Regions from separate parts of the Homo sapiens genome. Here all the other regions are linked to region 3. Evidence: promoter capture Hi-C in 16 types of primary human blood cells and fetal thymus (Javierre and others, 2016). All regions are on one chromosome and are shown on one strand. Each heading gives the region's core, a stretch centred on a gene start or on the middle of the fragment in contact. The rest is flanking DNA. Distances are from core to core; before and after follow the strand shown.

Region 1 (2,700 bases), core at 43-2,542, 480 kb after region 3:
GGCAGTAGTGTATACCAAGTGACTACGGTTTGTATTGGCAGGGGAGGTCTTACCTACACATGTACGAGTTTTATATTTATGTTTTTTAGGAGAACAATGAAAAGTAGAAGCAAAAGCTTTTAATTAGTTACTCAACTCTCTTTACAAATTATGTTTCACATTCAGGTTTCATGTTTAACACTAAATCTTACTTAGGTGTTTAATAAACTGATTAGGTTTGTGCAAAAGTAACTGTGTTTTTTTCCATTAAAGAAATTTGATTATACTATTTGGCTTTTACAGTGAATTTCTTTTTTATCTGAATGTATGTTTATTCTCTTCAGATTATCATATAATTGCCTCTAAAATAAAGAACTGGTGTTAAAATATTAAAATTTTCATTGTGCTTTAATAACCAAGGTTGCTTAGTTGGGTTTACATTATGATGTTTGTTTTATCAAACAACATAGTAAGTACCCTCTCTGTTTTCTGCCCGGCATCAGGGAAATGGGCTTAACTGTCATAGGTGGATGTTTTTTAACCAATATAAGAAAGTTTTCTCAGATTGAAGCGATGATTATAAAAATGTTGAAGTATTGTCAGTGCTTTGTGGCTCCCCTCTTCTCCCTATTCCTCCTCAATTTCTATTGAAAAGTAAGTGTTATTTTTAATAATTAATAGAAAAAGAAAATTTTGATTCGATTTTGTTTGATTTTCCTTTTTTTTTGTTTTGAGAGTAGCCGATCTGTCAGTAGAGAAAGACTGTGTATGGAAGACTAAAATTTACTTGAATGGTTTTAAGGCATGCTATTGTTAATTGTGAATCAAAGCTTTTTACACAGTTCTCCAAGGATTGAAATGGGTCTTTGTGGTCTCTCAGGAGGGAGGAAGTTACAAACCACTCCGCAGACTGGCATTTTAATAGTCTGCTGTACAGCGATGTTCTTTTGCAGCTGCTGCTTAGCCTTTTCTATATCTGGAGAGTGTGGGGAGGTTTTATTGTTGTTCCAATACTATCAGCTTTTAAAACATTGTGAAGTTAGTTGCCCTTATTGTCTGATTTAGTTTCGTTACTATAATTTGATCAATATGTTAGTAAAAATGAGGTTGGGGGGATAGGGGGTCCCTTATAGTATATTCCTAGAATATTTCACAGAGGATTTCTGCTTCATGAAAGGTACCTTTAAAAAAAGTGATGTGCCCCCTTTTGCAGCTTGTGAGCTCTCCTCTGATTAATACAATCCCGTTAGAACCTACAAGGCATAGAGGGAAGGATAGTACAAAGAAGTTTTGATGAAGGGAAATGACACAAAAAGGGAAAGTTGCTATTCTGTTTTTCCAGGTTGTAATTACAGCAAACGATTGATTGGAAAACATTTAAATAGCAAAACGTGTCTGTGTAAGAGACACATGTTTTTGTAGACAACTTTTAAAACCTTTTGACTTCGAAGTATGAGTTAGAAATGTCTGTAAGACATTTATTCCCACACTTCTTATTTTTCCTTTCTGAGAAATGTGAGCATTAGCATAAAAATATGAATATACAAAGTATTAAGAACAATAATAAACTTAGAGGAAAGACTTATAGGAAACTGTTTAGTTTATTCTCTCATACTTTATATGAAAGATGTGTGAATTTTTTTTAAGAACAGTCCTATTGCAGGACATTATAAACTTTTGATTGGTGTTGTGTATGAAGAATTCAAGGAGCTTTATAACTGAAAATCTGTATTATTAAGTGTTTCCATTTTAAAAACAGGTAATTTAGTTTCAAGATAATCTATCTGATTTTTGGACTAAGCTTTTTAATAAAATGTGTTCCTTTCAGTTTTCCTCAACATAATTTTTGTAGCTTAAAGTATGGTTTGTTCTAGCTAGTTAAGAGGTATTTGCATGATGGTCTGCTTTCTCCAGGAAGTGATTTTGTACAAGATTTAACTGTCTAGATCCTTCTTGTTACACATGATTCAGTGTTTCCAATTCCTGATTACTTGATCATGTGTTTATCAAAGTTGAAGCAACTTTAGACCATGGCAGATGGTAACGCTGGAGGTGTAGCAAGCTAGGTTTCTCTGCCACAAGTGCTCTAATTTAATTAAAACTAAAAACAGATTAGCAGAAAATCTGTCAGTATGCCTTCCTTTTGTGTGTGTATATATGTATATATGAGACAAATCTAATAATTTCTTGGGTTATTTTTATTCAGGGCATATTTATTTAGCGCTTAAAAGTGACTTGCATTTTTTTAATACCTCAAATTTTGTCTTATTGGTATCCTCCACCAATGCAAGGACTTGATGGAAATTGAAAGAGGTTACTTACAGCATAAACCCTCCCTCTGTGCTCTGTGAGTTGGTTCAGTCCTATTTTGCATAAGTTCCTTTTGAGTAGATCCATGTGTGAATGCATAGTACTGAAGACTTACTCCCTTTGCCTGTGTGGATATATGTCTTGGAGAGAGGCTGTGTGCATTAGCTACAAATAGTAACATTTTCAAAATCAACATGTATTGTGCTTATCCTGTCCCTGGAATGGGCAGCAATTCTTTGATGTATTACTACAATGGGAAAACGGTAAGCCTTTTTCTTTGTATAGCTTCTAACTCACTTGTTTAAAGGAAAGCAGTATACATTACTCGCTTTTTACTAAAATCTGTGAGGTTTTGTTTTATCCTTTTATGCAATGTATTAGATTGTAGATTTCTTTTTTTTTTTTTTTTTT
Region 2 (2,700 bases), core at 98-2,597, 420 kb after region 3:
ATTTATTTCCTTAGTTGTAAGATATCTTTTGGGAACTCTAAACCTATATCCTATTAAACAACTACTTCTGATCCCCAAATAGTTTGTTTTTTAAATTAATCCTGCTTATCTGCTATAATCTTTCATTGAAATATTTTAAAGCATTTTATACTTTTTTTAAAGCTTTACCCAAAATAAACTCTTACCATAAAAGCACTAAGTGAGATCTTTGCATGTTCTAGGGAAAAAAAACAGAAAGTATAAAATAAAAAACCTATAAAGGTGCAGTTAAATCCTTGTGCATATTTTATAAAATTATGAATGGAAAGAGACAGTCACAGGAACAGAAAATGCAAAGGAGTTTTGGGTTCAGTTATCACATATGTGATAATAGCAAAATACAAATATGGAAAATGATAGTAAAATGTAGATAAAGTGACAATACAAATTAAAGCAGAGTTCCTAAACTTTATAATAGGAAAAGGGGAAATTGTGAGTTATAATGGTTTTACCAAAGGTTACTGGCCAAGTTTCATTATCTCTGCAAGGGAAACTAGACTTTTTTTTTTTTTTTTTAAACAAAGTCTTGCTCTTCTGCCCAGGCTGGAGTGCAGTGGTGTGGTCATAGCTCATTTCAGCCTCCAAATCCTGGACTCAACAATCCTCTCACCTCAGCCTTCGAATAGCTGGGAGTACAGGTGCACGTCACCATGCCCTGCTAATTTTTTTTTATTATTATTTGTAGAGACACGATCGCACTATGTTGCCCAGGCTGGTGTCAAACTCCTGGGCTCAAGCCATCCTCCCACCTTGGCCTTCCAAAGTGCTGGGATTACAGGTGTGAGCCACTTTACCAGGTCGATTTTTGTTAACAGTATAATAAAAAGAAAGAAAGAAAGAAAGGCTAGAGTGGGGTTATTTTAGATAGTTTAGTCAGAGAACCCTTCTCTGAGGAAATAATATTTGAATAAATGCAAATGCACCTGTAGTCCCAGCTGTTTGAAGGCTGAACCCAGGGTTTGGAGGCTGGAATGAGCTATGATCACACCACTGCACTCCAGCCTGGGCAGCAGAGGAAGACTTTGTTTAAAAAAAAAAAAAAATTGTCTAGTTTCCCTCACAGACTTAATGCTGTGACAAAAGAACAATTCATACAGAGGGGCTAACAAGCCAAACCAGCAGCCTTCAGTGGGAGGGAACTTGGAAAGTTGGAATGTTCAAGGAAAATGACAAAATACAAGTTTACAAAAATTGTTTTTTCAAAAAATGCTCAAATGGCCAGGCACAGTGGCTCATGCCTGTATTCCCAACACTTGGGAGGCTGAGGTGGGTGGATCACTTGAGTCTAGGAGTTCGAGACCAGCCTGGGTGACGTGGCAAAAAAAAAAAAAAAAAATACAAAATTTAGCTGGGCATGGTGGTGTGCACCTGTGGTCCCAGCTACTCAGGAGGTTGAGGTGAGAGGATAGCTTGAGCCTGGAGGTAGAGGTTGCAGTGAGCCAGGACTGTGCCACTGCACTGCAGCCTGGTTAACAGAATGAGACCTCATCTCAACAACAACAGAAAGCTCAAATGTACTTACAAGCATTATAACTAACAACAACGTGACCAGTTTTCCCACGTGAGACGGGTCTAGGTGTAGTCTTAAATCTATGTTTACATTGCCAGGATATACAAATCCCTCGGAGAAAGAACAGGAGTGCTTTAAGATTTTTCAGTATAAATTTTACTGTTAGTTAGCATATAGTTTGTCAAAATATTTTAATGAAATCAGTGACTTTTTAAATTGAATATAAAAGTGTCAAAATAAATGTAAATATGACGTAGCTTGCATAGTGAGAGACAGACCTCTAAGAAGCAGTAAAATTTAATAATAGCAATTTTCACCAGTGTTTTTCATGCCCTGTGGTTATCTGTAGCATATATTTAGAGTATATGTATGTGGGCAAGGGTTGGGGCCAGGAATTAAAGACCTACACAACAAAATACATGATACTGAATTTGGAGAACTGGTCACAACATGCCAAAGAAAATAGAAGAGAACTAGGAACTGGACATTGTATTTCATAACTGAAATGATGAGAAAGAACTGGAAAATTGCCAGCCTTTTAACCTTTTAGAAATAGCTATGTGTGTAGTTAGTACAGGAGATCATTTTCTTAGAGCAGTTTGTTCTAAATTCAAATATGTCAGCAGACTTAGTGGAATTCAAAGTATTTTAGAAATAAAACATCTAATGTTGGAAATAAGAGAGCACAATATCATAAAAACAGAGGTAGTTTAACAAAGTTTTTAGATTGTCCAAGAGTTTATCAAACCCATTATCTATTATGGTAAAGTCTCGCTGAGTAGGATGTTTTTAACTTAGGCTACTCCAAAAAGTAAAGATAGTAGCAAATGTAGATCCAACTTTTCAGGTTATCTTCTACCTCATGCACTACTCTAAGCAGTCTTTGTTTGTTGGAAAGTCTGATTATTTACAGAAGTCAAGTTTTGTTATGTTCTATCTTTTTCTGATCTGTAAAAATGGGTTTGCTAGAGAAAGACTAGGAGAAAGCTTTTTTATTTTTTTCCTTTAAAGGGGGTGTGTGAAAGGGTTTCTAAGAGGTATAAAAACCTTAGGAAGTTTCATAGTGGTCCTAACTAAATCATTACTTTTCAGACATTTGACAGTAGGCACTCCATGAGAGCAGGAAAACAAGGTGAGTCCTGAAGTTACCC
Region 3 (2,700 bases), core at 165-2,664:
ATTCCCACAAAAATGGTATATACTAGAGTTGAGCACCGGAGAAGGAGTCAGAAGACCTAAGGTTCTATTAATATAATTGGCCTTGGCTCTTCCTAGTCAGTGACCTCATTAAAGTCCTCTCCCTGAGGCTCTGTTTCCTCGCCTGCAAAATGATTCCAGCAACCCAGACCACTTCAAAAGGGGCTAAGAGATACAAATCAGGGGTTATCAATGAAAGGCACAAAAGCAAGACACAATTACAACAGTATTTGTAGTGATGTTAAAACATCAGAGGCACACAGCCCTAACAATGGTATAAGCAAACCAGTGCCTTCCCTGGTTAAGTTTCTGCGTGGAGACAGCTGGAGTTGGCACAGCAGTCCCCCAAAGCAGGACACCTTACAGATGCTAAGAGGCAGCTTTTGTGCTTTAAAACTGTCCTTCTAGCGTTCCATTTTATGTTTCATGGCACTAAAAAAGACAAATTCTGTCCAAACCTGAAAATAAAGCCAAATATTTAAGATGACAGATTTTTTTTTTTTTAACAAATCTTCGCAAACAAAGGCCTTTGGCCAAAGGTCTCCCGTGCTTGCAGAAGCGGGTTCACCTTGACGTTTTTCCTCTCCAGCAGATTTCTCCTTAAAAGCGTTAAAACTTGCGATAAGTTGGGAGGAATTCCTTCCATCGCTGGAGCAGGCTAAAACCTCAGAGTGAGATCATTCTTTCCGTCTCAGTAAGTGAACCTTGCAAAGCTCAGAAAATTTTGTCTCCAACTCCACGTTTCTCCTCAGGGCCCTTCTTCTGTAGACAATAACGGGAATTCTATGGCAGAGGAGGGGAGGTCTCTTTGACAAAAATGAGGGTGCAAACGTGGAACGACCGGTCATCTGGGCAAAATGAGGGGCCCTGTGCCTGCAAATCCCGAATCCCCTTTGGTCTCCTTTCCTACGACTGAAGAGACACGGGGGTGGGCTGTGGTGTGAGGACCATGGGTCTTGGCCAAACATCGGCACAAAATGTACCAAAGGGAGTTGCCTCCAGAGAGAAAAGCCAAAACCAGGCTGGGGACAAACAGGCGCACACGCCTGGGAGAGGAGGTGGCGGAGGAGCAGAAGGCGAAGGCCTGCGCGGCCCAGGCCTGCAGCAGCCGAGGCGGCTGCCGCGTCGCGCCGGGATACCTCCTCCCCCGCCTGGGCCGACGCAAGATGGCGGTCCGGCCGCCGCCGCGCAGCCGGTCTCCTCCCCCGCGCTCTGGGCGCTCCCGACGACCCGCGCCGGCCTCAAGACCCCCAGTCCAGCGCCCCCGGAGTGAGGCGGCGCAGGCCGCGCGGGAGGGCCTCTGCCTGCTGCAGCGCAGGGCGGGCGGGGGCGGGGGGGCGCTTACCGTGAGCGGAGCGGATCGGCCTGACTGGAGCCCTGAGGAGGAGGAGAAAGAGGAGGAGGAAAAGGAGGAGCACGAAAAACTACACTGCGGCGACGGCGGCGGCTCCCATTGCGGAGCTGGCAGCCGAGCCGTGGAAAGGGGGGGGCTCTCGTGCAGCCGGCGCGCTGCCTCATGGGTAGGCTCCGGGTCAGCCTCCCCGTGTCCGAGCTCCCTGTCTTCTCGCCGACGCGGGAGGCGGGCACCGGCATGTGCGCCGCGTCGCGGGCCCTCGAAGACCCACGCGCCCCGCCACGCGCCGGTCCGGGGCGAGGGCCAGGGCCCTGCCTCCATGTGGGTGCGAGCTGCTGGCTGGTGTGGCCGGGAGGCAGCCCCAAAATCCGGACTGCTCGGAATTTGCAGGCGAGGAGCCGTGCGTTCCGGGCCCTCCGCGTGTGTAACGACCCCCAGTCCGTTGGCTTGGAAAGTGAAAAGGTCATGGGATACAGCCGCCGTTCGAAAGAAGCAAGGGGCCTGTGGGTCGAAGACTAAACCAGGAGAGAAAAAGGAATCGTCCGTTTCTTTAAATAACGAGCTGATTTTACCAAGTCTGTTTTAAATGTGTGGTTTTGCTTGCGTTCCCTGTCGAGGTCAAATACGAAGAGACGAATCTGTACATTTAGCGTTTTATTTGGGACACAGGAATTGCAAGTTCAGGTTATTTACACATACAGGGTGGTCTTCAGTATGTCAGAAGAACAAAGAGGAGTTAGGGGGTTTTATTTTTTAAAAAAAGTTATCTATTGTTTTTCTAGAAAGTTCGTTGACATTTAGTAAAGTTTTGGGTAGCTGGTTAGTTCTGACTGGTGAGGGAAGGGGCTTGGTAAAGCTTGCCCTACAGCTGCAGCAGGTTCTTTGAGAAGCTAAAACCTGAAGATAAAACCTGTTTCAGGTTACAGCAGGCGGTTTCAGCAGCCAGGCTTGCTGAGAATTCCATTCTTAGAGCAATGTTATGTGCCCTGAGGGCTTCCCCCAGCACTGGCTTCTCCATTCTTTTAGTTGGCTATGACAAGAGTGACCCAATTAGAATGATTAACTTGCACACTCTAATTCCTAACTCTGCCATCTGCATATTAACCTGTAATAGCATTTTTTAAAGTTTGACAACGAGAAGTATAAGAAATTTACAAGAAGAACACTTGCCAAGATACTGCTTGCGTAAATACTTGCTAAAGGTTGTATTCTGATCTGTAAGGAAAGTTTCCTAAACTGATTGTCTTCTCAAGAGCAATGGCATTACTGGTGCAGCTTGTGAGTGACCAAGACTTGAAATCTTGCCTGTTAGGATCCATAACAGACAC
Region 4 (2,700 bases), core at 163-2,662, 390 kb after region 3:
TTTCTTTTTTGTGACGGAGTCTCACTCTTTCACCAGGCTGGAGTGCAGTGGCACGATCTCAGCTCACTGCAATCTCCACCTCCCCAGTTCAAGTGATTCTCCTGCCTCAGCCTCCTGAGTAGCTGGGACTGCAAGTATGAACCACCATGACTGGCTAATGGTGGTTTTGTTTTTTTGTTTGTTTGTTTGTTTTTTTGTTTTTTTGGCAGCAGGTCGGTGGGTGGGCAGTGTTTGTAGAGACAGGGTCTCACATTGTGCCCAGGCTAGTCTCAAACTCCTGATGTGAAGCAATCCTCTCCGCTCAGCCTTCCAAACCGCTGGAATTATAGGCATGAGCCACCGTACCCGGTCCACAGCTTTTTTTTTTTAAGTATCTTCTTCATACTAGATACGATACTGTATGCTATTTTTGAGACTCCGTAGTCAAGTATAATTGTAAACCAGCTAGTAAAATTGAAGTTTCTTTTTTCATCCTTGTGTTATTTGGAAACAAAATTAAGAAATAGAGTCTCTTTTCTTCCTCCTACTTTATTCAACAGCCCTCACTCCATATGGATACTGTATACTTTGGATTTTAGAATATTTTAACTCTTAAAGGAATGGGCAGTGGAATCACAATATCACTGATTTAGCAGATCCTTGGTAAATATTCGTCATGTGATCCTGTGGCAATCCTAAATAGGAATTCACCTCTTTCTCTTAAGCTTTCCCATAGTACTTTATATCTCTTTAAAAAAATCAGTTGTTTACATTACTACATTGAAAGTTTTTTGGACCACCAACCTTGTTTCTGTCTCAGAACCTTAGCTAAATGCAGGGTATTCAAATATCCCATCCTTATTTCCTGTCATTTCTTGTCATGAGTCTTAGGTCCTACTACTATTTACCTGCTTATAATTACACATTTAGTTTGAAGTGTTTTATGTTTGCATGCTTTTCTTTCACATTATTCCCCCTAACTGAAATGCCCTTCATACATTTTTTTGCCTAATTAAATCTGTCAGTTCATTTATCAGTACTTACTGCATTTCTGCCATTTGCTAGATACTGCGTTGACTACTCGGATGTACATTGGTAATGGAAGCATTTATGACTTTGCCGTCCTGGAGTTTTCAACCCATGCTTGTCTTTTCTAGAAAGCCTTGCCTAAACTCCCAACTTGGATTCAGTGCTCCCTTGCTGTTTTGTCTGTGGCTCCCTGTATATGTTATGCTGAAATTTGCTGTTTGTGTACACTTGCTTTTAGGTTGGAGTTTTCTTGAAGATAGGATGTCTTGATTCATTTCTTCCCTTGGCCCTATCCAATATCTGATATATATCAAGTGCTCAATAATTGTTTGTTGAACTGCTTTTAAACTGTAGATAGATTACATGATCCCTGCCATTGATGAGCTCTCAGGACTTACAGTTCTGTGTATGTTTTGGCTTTTGTTATAGTTGTTTGAATGCATATCTGTCTCTCCTGTTAGGTTGCCAGCTTCTTGAAGAATAAAATTTTATCAGCATATTTTATTTATATTATATGGACAATTATATTTCTATATTTTTTTGCTATGCCCCACCATATCTAATTTTACATATGGGACCTGTAAGATTTTGATCCTTCTCCTAAAATGTTTTTGGTAAATGCTGATCTCCTGTGAGAGCCACCTGAGTGAGGAATCTCAGTGTGTAGGAAAGTGAGACATTCTTTAATGAGAGACTGGAAGAGTTTGGTTGTTAAGTGGGCTCAGAAAATGTCTGTTGTGGCAAGCCTGTGGCCCCATCTACTCAGGATACTGAGGTTGGAGGATCACTTGGACCCAGGAGATTGAGGCTATAGTGAGCCATGATTGCACCTCTGCACTCTAGCCTGGGTGAAAAAGTGAGACTGTCTAAAAAAAAGAAAAGAAAGGAAAGGAAAATGCCTGTTGTCTCTCCTCTGCAAATGAGCTGATACTGAAAGGTAATCTGGAACAGGAGTTTTATGGATATCTGTTTTTGAAACTGAAAGAAGTAGCATTTTGGCATGATCTGGAGCTGACATACATTCCAGAGGCTATATAGATGATGACATCTACCAGTGAGGCTACATGACTGACGTAGAAACTGAGGTTCTTTCGCTAGTCTAGGACAAAGATGAAGCTTAACTTCGCTGATGGATAGAACCAGACTTTGTCACTGTTTAAATAATACATTTTTGGTTGTTTTCTAAATATGAATTCGGTTCACTCTGAAATTAGAGCAGTTCCATGAGTTCACTGAATTTATTTGAACAATAGTGTTTGCCATGGTTTGAATGATGGTATCTGCTCCAAAATTCATGTTGAAATTTAACCCTCAATGCAACAGTGTTAAAAGGTGTAGTTGGCCTGTGGGAGGTTATTAAATTATGACAGAGCTTCACTATCATAAATAGGATTAACGCCTTATGAAGTGGCTCAAGGTCGAAAGGCGCACCTTCTTGCCCTTCCACTCTTCTACCCTGTGAGGACACAGCGTTTATCTCTTGCCCTTCTGCCATTTGAAGATACAGTATTGCTCCCCTCAGAGGAGGCAGCAATAAAGTGCCATGTTGGAAGCAGAGAGCAACCCATATCAGATGCCAGTCCTGCTAGCCCCTTAATCTTAGACTTCTCAGTCTCTAGAACCATGAGAAATAAATTTGTATTGTTTGTAAATTACCGATTCTATGGAATTTTTGTTACAGCAGCACAAATG
Region 5 (2,700 bases), core at 79-2,578, 260 kb after region 3:
TAGCTTGATAGCCCAATGTGTTCTTGGGTTATGATTCTGAAATACTGCTGAGCTTTAAAAACTTTAGCAGCTTTGACCAGAACACCTACGTTAAAATTTCTTTATAACTCTTCAGAATTTTTTTCTTTTTCTTTTTTTTTTTGAGACAGGGTTTTGCTCTATCACCTAGGCTGGAGAGTGAAGTGGCATAATCATGGCTCACTGGAGCCTCTACCTTCCAGGCTCAAGCAATGCTCCTACCTCAGCCTCCACAGTAGCTGGGGCCACAGATGTGCACCACTGCACTTGGCTAATCCTTAAATTTTTTTGTAGAGATGGGGTCTCACCATGTTGCCCAGGCTGCTGTCAAACTCCTGGGCTTAATCAGTCCTCCCACCTCAGCCTCCCAAAGTGCTGACATTACAGACGCGAGCCACTGTGCCTGGCCAGTCTTCAGATTTGTTAACAAATCTCAGGGGTTTGCTTTAGTCTCCCAAGCTCGCCTTACGTAAATGTGTCATGTAATGAAAGATGATATTCCCAACCCACCATCTCACATATTCAGTTGATTTTCACTAACCGTGAAGGATTTGCACTGATTTATGCATCCAATTCTCTCCTGATTTCTTTACTTTTCCTCCTCTTTTCTCTTTCCTCACCAGTCTTCCGTTTCCATCTAATGACTAGTGTCCCACATTGGACAAGATAAAATGGTTGACCAGTTAGAGACATAGGAAAAAGTGGAATATTGAATTTGCATTGAAAGGGCTGAACTTGTGACCTTATGTTATCTTCCATATAATTCTAATTTCTACAATATAAGGTTTTAATTTACTCAGTTCAGAAAATCTAATTGTTTGACAGTAAAGTTTGGACCTATTTATATAAAGTTTGGAGGAAATATGATCTTATCAATATGCACTATGGAAAATGTCCTTTTTAGTCTGTGAATTTAGAGCTATACCTACTGCTTGAATGAAGATGGTCTAAAGATTTAAAAGACATTTAGGGTTAATAAGTTTTCATGGCAAAACATTTAACATTTTTAAACTAAATTCAGATGAGTTACTCATTTTTTGTGTACCTTAATTCCTTCCAAATACTCTTCTGTCAGAACTACAAAGTTAAATCTCAATTATAGTGCCCTTTTTTTTATTTAGGGAAATAATTATCATCATTGATTAATACATTGTACAAGGGTTAACTGTCTTTTAACCATCAGGGTATAGAAAAAGTAAGTTGGTTAAAACAACTTTTAAGTTTATTATGGAGATAAACACTATTGTCATATGATTCTTTAGATTTCCTTAAAAATTGATCTCCTATGCCAGGCACAGTAGCTCATGCCTGTACCCTAGTACTTTAGGAGGCTGAGGTGGGAGGATCACTTGAGACCAGCAGTTCCAGATCAATCTTGGCAATACAGTGAGATCGTGTCTCTACTAAAAAAAAGCCAAAAAGAAAAAAAAAAAACCTAGTTGGGCATGGTGATGTATGCTTCTGGTCCCACTTACTCAGGAGGCTGAGGTGGGAGGATGATGTGAGCCCAGGAGGTTGAGGCTGCAGTAAGCTGTGATCATTACACTGTAGTCTAGCCTGGGTGACAGAGTGAGACCCTGTCTCACAGTAAATAAATAAATAAAAATTTAAGCCTTGCTTCTAAATCCAGTCTCCTTTAATTAAGTTTTATTGCCACATTCTTTCTGCTTTTAATTTTTTGTTGTTGTTGTTAAAACTAAATTTTACAGCTTTTGTTTCTCACGTAGCAGCCAGGGTTTGAAAGAGATTAAGGGTCATTCTTCTGAAATAAAACATGTCCTGAATAATTTTAATTTGAGTCTACTATTGAAAGTCACATAACATTTTGTTGAATGGTGATTCTTACCTAATCACCTGTAAATGGATCACAGACACAAATACCTAGTGATGTGCTATACATTATGCCATTGTGAATTTTATAAAGGCTAAAGAGTGAGGAAGTAGAGTTCTTCTTTTCTGATAGTGCACTACAAAATTTTGAGGACCTTGCAGTGATCATCTGTAGTCATAAAAGCTGTTTAGCCAAAACATGATTGGATTTTATTAATAGTGTTACGGCTATCTTTTCATGAGTTAGTTACCATGTGAATTAGTGCAATTTTGGTGAATAGAAGAATGCTTAGGACTATTGTCTTATTTTAAATTACCGATTATCTTTTTATAAGGATATTTGAGGAGTTCATGTGTCAGTGAGAATTGAGCAACTGAGAAGAAGTTAGAGGTTAGTTCCCTTTTCCAAGTATGATGGATTAACCACATGCACCCCGTCTTTCTCACTGAATGCATCTATAAAACCTAGGCAAAATGGATGGAACTCTTCTGGACTCTGCAGAATAAATAATACCAGGTGGGATATGAATGAAGACTAGCATTCAGAATACCATCTCACTGGCTGTGAGTTTACCATTTTTTTTTTCTTCCAGCATCCCCAGACAACTTAACACAATCTAAAACCTAAAAGTGGGGCAATCTGAAACAGAAAGCTCTAAAAGACGCCTGCTACTTCTGGCTCAAGGAACAGGAAAGATAACTGCTAAGTTCAGAATGAAAATTTTGTCATTTTTTTTGTCTTCTCCATCTCTCATGCCCTATTCCCAAGCAACCGTGTGGTAATGGCAGCAGAGACTACAGCAGGAGCCCATGGTCAAAACTGAGGGATGAGAACTTTCCTCTCCAGTTGAC
Region 6 (2,749 bases), core at 90-2,589, 350 kb after region 3:
GGCCTCATCCAGAACTTTCTGATGGCTTATGGGTTTTGGCCGATTCTTCTGGCTTTTGCCCACTTAGAGGGTGTAAGATTTCGGTAATTGGTGGGAAATCTTGTAGCTCTTTGAATACCAGAAACCCGTGGATACTTGTTCAATCCGGTTAGATAAGCTAGTTTCTTACCACCTTTCTTTCTGATAGTTACCCTGAGGTCTATGGAGAAACTGATTGGACATTTATAATATCTAAAACTCAGCAGCATTTTAAAGATTTAGCAGCTAAAACCTCCTCCCCTCCCTTTGTCATTTGTTCAGCACCTGCTATGTATGTGGCAGGCATCATTCTGAGGATGTCATTGTTGGGGGAAAAAGAAAAAAAATAGGGTCCCTGTGCTCTCAGAATTTGTAAGACATAATCTCTAACTTGGATGATGATGATAATAATAATAATAATAATAATAATAATATAATGACTAGTGTTTATTATGTGCTTACTATGTGCCAGGAACTTTTCCAAGTGCTACATATATTTACTTATTTAATCCTTTTGTAACAACCTGTGAAGTGAACGCATTCTTATTACCATCATCTACATTTTACAGATAAGGAAACTGAGATAAGAAAGTTTAATATGCCCCATGCCACATAGCTTGTATGTACCAAAGATGGAATTACCTGCCAGTCTGGCTCCAAAAATTTCATGTTTATCCACTACACTATGCTGTGCAATTATAACACAAATTTAAATTATAAATTTAATTTAAATGGATAATTAAATAGGCAGTTTTAATAAGTAGGAGCCGTGCAATGATGGAGTGCTCACTGCTGTGGGAGCACAGAATAATCTCACGCAATTTGGTCTTGTTAGGGTCCAGGGAAAGCTTTCCTGAGAAAGTAATCTTTATTCAAAGAGCCTCTTTCCCTCCCTTTAAAAAAAAAAAAAAAAAAAAGGCCATTGAAAAGAATTGAAAAATTTTTTAATAGAATTTTAAAAACAGTGGTTTCTTTTTTTTAAACTGATTTTCATACAAAGAAATAACAACATAGGTTTGTAAAACTGTAAGTGTATTCTGAACTGGGAAAGATCCTCTGGTGATGATACTCTATAAATTGGATGAGATAAATTTTTTAAATGAGCCGTTTTAAAAATTAGCCAAAAGAAAAAATTCTTGTATTTTTGAGGTGAGAAACCAGATAAGAGTACTATTATATAAATAATACTAGGTGTGTTCTCTCCCTCTGTCTCCCTCTGTCTCTTCCCCTCTCTCTCCCTCTGTCTCCCTCTGTCTCCCTCTCTCTCCCTCTGTCTCCCTCTGTCTCCCTCTCTCTCCCTCTCCCTCTCCCTACCCCCCTGCTCACCTTGGATACAACAAAATATTTGATTGCCCACATTTTGGGAGGCCAAAATGGGAGGTTCACTTGAGCCCAGGAATTCAAGACTAGCCTGGACAACATAGGAGACCCCATCTCGACAAAAAATAAAAATATTGGCTGGTCGTGGTGGTGTGTGCCTGTAGTCCCAGTTACTCAGGAGGCTGAAGTGGGAGGATTGCTTGAGCCCAGCAGATTGAGGCTGCGTTGAGCTGTGATCATGCCACTGCACTCCAGCCTGAGCAACAGAGCAAGACCCTGTCTCAAAAAAAAAAAAAAAATTTATATATATATATATTTGATTATGTGCTGTTTAGTTTAAATATGGAAGCTGCTTTGATCACTTCAGGTCTGTTGTCATACTGTAGCAGGGGTTAACATTTCTAAGTTCCTGCATCAGGAAATGAACATAGAGAAAAGTATGAAATCTACTTTATAGACCACATTTTATAATATCAAAGCTTTTATGAAGTATTATGCATTCATAGATGGAATTATTTAAGATTTACCAACCAAATTTTAGACAGATTTTAAGTATAGAAATTAATGGTTTTTGTAATCTTGCCATGCATCAACTGATTTTATCAATTATTAATATCTTGAGTGCTTTCCATTTTTATAAGATGGGAACAGTGATTGTTTAGGTTGTATTTGGAAATATTTTGGTGTTCAATAGCATATTGTGGCTAAAAGGCTGGTGTAATAGATAATTCTGATAGTATTGCTCTGTCCTTCATAATGTATGTCATCTCATGTATTAAAAAATCTCGTTTATCTTAGTTGCTATTAACAGAATTCAAGATCTTAATTAGGAGTCCTGGGAGCCATGTTTGACCCCTTTTATTAGCATAGTAACTTTCTATCAATTTGAAATATGCAGCATGATCATTGTATATTTAATGATGTCACTGATTTACTTCCTTTATATTTTAAAATTGAAATAGCATTCATTTACTGGTCCCATTGGTTGATCCACTCGGGCTCCAACTTAACCATTGTTTGCTTGGTTTTTGTTCTTTTCTTGTCACTGCAACCACTCCCTTAGGCCATTTACCTTCAACCTATGTTCTCCAGCCTGTTGGAAGTTACTACATTATTTTGCTTTGTTCTCTGCTATTCTGTCAGCCCCGTGAGTGCTCTGGTTTATGACATTTTCCCCTTTTGCTCTATGAGCAGCCATGCTTGTTGCCTAACTCTATGTGGTATTTCAGAAGAAGTTTAAACTCCTAGTCAACTAACCTATTTCTTTCATTGGGGCTATATTTGACAGCTAAGCTACCTTCTACTTTTAAAACTACATGGATGATTACATACATACATAAAAATATTTTGCTATTCTAATTGCTTTAGTTTTTTTTTTTTTTTCTTTAAACTGTGGGGTTTCTCCCTAATT
Region 7 (2,700 bases), core at 7-2,506, 260 kb before region 3:
TTCAAAGGAAAGAATTAACTAGGCAAGCTCGTAGAAAGGGGTAATCATGGGACAGAGATTTGTACGAAGTCTGTCTCCTAGCTCATTTTTCATGAATCCAGCATTTTTCAAACTATGGATCACAAACAGTATTTAAAAAGAAATGGAATAGAATAGCCCAGAAAATATAGAGTGCATCAAATCTAGTTAACTAGGTATTGTTTTGTGACACTTTTTAGTTCTAGATAGATGATTGATTGACCTATCAATAGATAGATAGAATGTATATATTGGGTCACGATGTAAAATATGTATCTTACTAAGGGTGAAGGTCAGAAAGTTTTGAAAATGAGTTAGACCATATTGCCTCTCTTTCTCAATCTTAGGAAGATACCTCTTTGAATTATAGCAAAGTTCACATTTTAAGAATTTTTCCCACAATGTCAATGGCATCACTCCACTCCAAATAATTTTTTCAAAGAATCACTGAATCAGACATATTTGAAGTATTTTCAACTAATTGTACCAATCCTTCCAATAATTATAGAGTAGTAAACCAAAGTGATTCCTCATTTACTCTTTCCTAGGCAAACCCAGCTTTGTTTTATTAAAATTTGTATTACAATTAATTACTCTGACTGTAATAAAAGATATCATGTTAACAGTATCGTAGATGATATAACAATTTATACATAATGAAATGCGATGTGCTCATAGAATATTATACAATATATGTTCTACATAGTATTTATAGAACAATAATGACAATTACTAAATTGTATTAGGTATCCAGTACTTGCTGATTTGTGTCCATATCAGCAATAACAACGATATTTTGTTAGAAGCAGAGACTTCCTAATTTGGAAGTATGGGGAATGCTAGGGAAAACTGATGCAGGCATAAAGGCAGCATCTGGAGAGAAAGGAAACAACACTTTCAATACTAATTTTATAAGCAGGTAGTGCCAAGGAATCCAATTAGATCAACAGGTACATGTGACAGGAATCAAGGAAACAGATCCTTCCATCTGACCCATCCCACTGGAGATGGTGGGTAAACTTAATTAGTTTGCTTGGTCCTCTACTTGTTGATTTCTGTCCACATATCAATGAGGAGTTCAATATATAGAGTGAAAACCTAACCTATCATAGGTCTCTTGTTTTATAAGATATTGCTATGAGGATTACAGAATAACCTGAACAACAAGGTAATAGTGGCCTCTAAGGCAGCATTAGTCATAAAAGTAGCAAAAAAAAAAAAAAAAAAAAAAAAAAGAAAGAAAATGGGAAGAGTAAAAAAGTGAATAGCACCATAAGTGATGAGAGACATTCTTGCTTCCTATTTTTTTTATGCTTCTCTGGCTATTTCTCTACTAATGTATTCAGAGCAACAGTTACCAACTGTGTACCTCTCCACCATATAATTCTGTTCCTTAGGGTTTTTCTTTCCTTTCCTAGTAGATATACCTAAGAAATAGTCAAATAATAATTCACAAAACCTAATCCAGCCCCTTAGTTCTTTAGAATCTGTTATAGTAACTGGCATCTGGTGACCTGAACTGAGCTGATAAATTTGATCAAATCTATGACATCATCAATGATATGCACCATTATTTTATTCATCAGTAAAGAAGAAAACAATCCTACTAATTAAATTGTAGCAAATAATCTATTTAAAGATATCCCAATTTCAGAAAGGTTAAAATGCAAAAAAAAAAAGTCTTAGAATCTGTGAAAACATGGATTTTTTTTCTCTCTGGAAGTAAATTTTACTACAATGCATTTATCCTAATGCCGTGCCATCATGAGAGAGCATAAATGAGGAACTGCGATAATGGTAACTACAACAACCAAAGAGAAACCATTGCTAATCAGTCCCCACCAGCAGAATAAGATCCTAATTCCTACTCAAGTTATGTATATTTTTATCCCTCCTTGGCATCGACCAGGGCAATCGCCACACTCTGCATCAGTTAGCGTCCTCTGAGTTGCAAATGCTGGGATGGAATTGGATGGTCAAGAGGTTTATTTGGAGAAAGTCCTAAGAAAGCTAAAGAGGGAGGGGAAAAAGAGACCATAATATAGATCTAACTCATAAAAGCAGAGAGGAAAAGAAAAAGGAGCCTCAAGCAGCAGCACAATTCTGAGAGAGTTTCTACCAGGCTAATGGGAAGTCTCCAAGCAAAGACTTCCCATTAGATATGTCCCATGTTGTGTCAAAAGCCCTGGCTCTCATATCCTGGCATTGGCCAGGAGTACTTAGGGGATAGCATGGTCTCAGCATGGACGCAGCAGCAAATCTGAATGTGTAGCATCTGGAGGTTCAGGGAGGAGCACCTTCCTTGCAGCAGGTTCCCCTAAGGACAATTCTGAGCAGGGCACTTCCATGGCTGCCACACTGACATATGGCATACCACCATGCTTCCCACACTGATAGTGGCTCTCATTTCCTCTGATCTTCTCATACATCATATTTGTTATTATTGCTGCCTCACTGAGCTCTTCTCTAAAAATACTCTACATGCTAGATTTTCTGCCCACATCTTGGAATCAGACACATAGAATCCTTGAGGGATGGCATGGCCTGCAAGTACCACCTGGATTAGACATCACTCACACGGTCAAACTGCAATCCCTGTTTCCCAACATCCCACTTAAGGCAAAACACCTACTGCATCTCCTTCCCAGAGTTCGCCTGCTAAGTATGCAAATTAGGACACAG

What was found. Contacts are between HindIII fragments. The CHiCAGO score rates a contact against its expected background, and 5 or more counts as called.
Region 1: a contact is called between a fragment that was not itself captured here and the fragment with the promoter of ZNF280D in region 3, in 1 of 17 cell types (fetal thymus). The highest score is 7.6, in fetal thymus.
Region 2: a fragment that was not itself captured here is called in contact with the fragment with the promoter of ZNF280D in region 3 in 1 of 17 cell types (fetal thymus); the score reaches 5.3 in fetal thymus.
Region 4: a fragment that was not itself captured here is called in contact with the fragment with the promoter of ZNF280D in region 3 in 1 of 17 cell types (fetal thymus); the score reaches 6.2 in fetal thymus.
Region 5: a fragment that was not itself captured here is called in contact with the fragment with the promoter of ZNF280D in region 3 in 1 of 17 cell types (fetal thymus); the score reaches 5.2 in fetal thymus.
Region 6: a fragment that was not itself captured here is called in contact with the fragment with the promoter of ZNF280D in region 3 in 1 of 17 cell types (fetal thymus); the score reaches 5.7 in fetal thymus.
Region 7: a contact is called between a fragment that was not itself captured here and the fragment with the promoter of ZNF280D in region 3, in 1 of 17 cell types (fetal thymus). The highest score is 5.5, in fetal thymus.

The regions. Positions count from the first base shown.
Region 1 is chr15:57,217,039-57,219,738 of GRCh38, forward strand. All of the region lies in intron 8 of TCF12 (transcription factor 12), which reads left to right. Among named protein-coding and RNA genes, the nearest start is that of SNORD13D, 60 kb to the right of the region's middle. The HindIII fragment of the contact is 971 bases long and covers 808-1,778 here.
Region 2 is chr15:57,147,345-57,150,044 of GRCh38, forward strand. The region is part of intron 5 of TCF12 (transcription factor 12); the gene reads left to right. Among named protein-coding and RNA genes, the nearest start is that of SNORD13D, 130 kb to the right of the region's middle. The HindIII fragment of the contact is 2,374 bases long and covers 161-2,534 here.
Region 3 is chr15:56,732,095-56,734,794 of GRCh38, forward strand. It overlaps ZNF280D (zinc finger protein 280D), which reads right to left and starts at 1,415. Exons shown (of 22, transcript NM_017661.4): 1 at 1,364-1,415. RefSeq lists a silencer at 1,165-1,434. The HindIII fragment of the contact is 3,680 bases long and covers 1-2,226 here.
Region 4 is chr15:57,119,102-57,121,801 of GRCh38, forward strand. All of the region lies in intron 5 of TCF12 (transcription factor 12), which reads left to right. Among named protein-coding and RNA genes, the nearest start is that of SNORD13D, 160 kb to the right of the region's middle. The HindIII fragment of the contact is 1,420 bases long and covers 703-2,122 here.
Region 5 is chr15:56,990,669-56,993,368 of GRCh38, forward strand. The region is part of intron 3 of TCF12 (transcription factor 12); the gene reads left to right. Among named protein-coding and RNA genes, the nearest start is that of TCF12, 73 kb to the left of the region's middle. The HindIII fragment of the contact is 3,108 bases long and covers 1-2,700 here.
Region 6 is chr15:57,085,791-57,088,539 of GRCh38, forward strand. All of the region lies in intron 4 of TCF12 (transcription factor 12), which reads left to right. Among named protein-coding and RNA genes, the nearest start is that of TCF12, 170 kb to the left of the region's middle. The HindIII fragment of the contact is 951 bases long and covers 865-1,815 here.
Region 7 is chr15:56,470,060-56,472,759 of GRCh38, forward strand. No RefSeq gene overlaps it. Among named protein-coding and RNA genes, the nearest start is that of MNS1, 6.3 kb to the left of the region's middle. The HindIII fragment of the contact is 3,285 bases long and covers 1-2,700 here.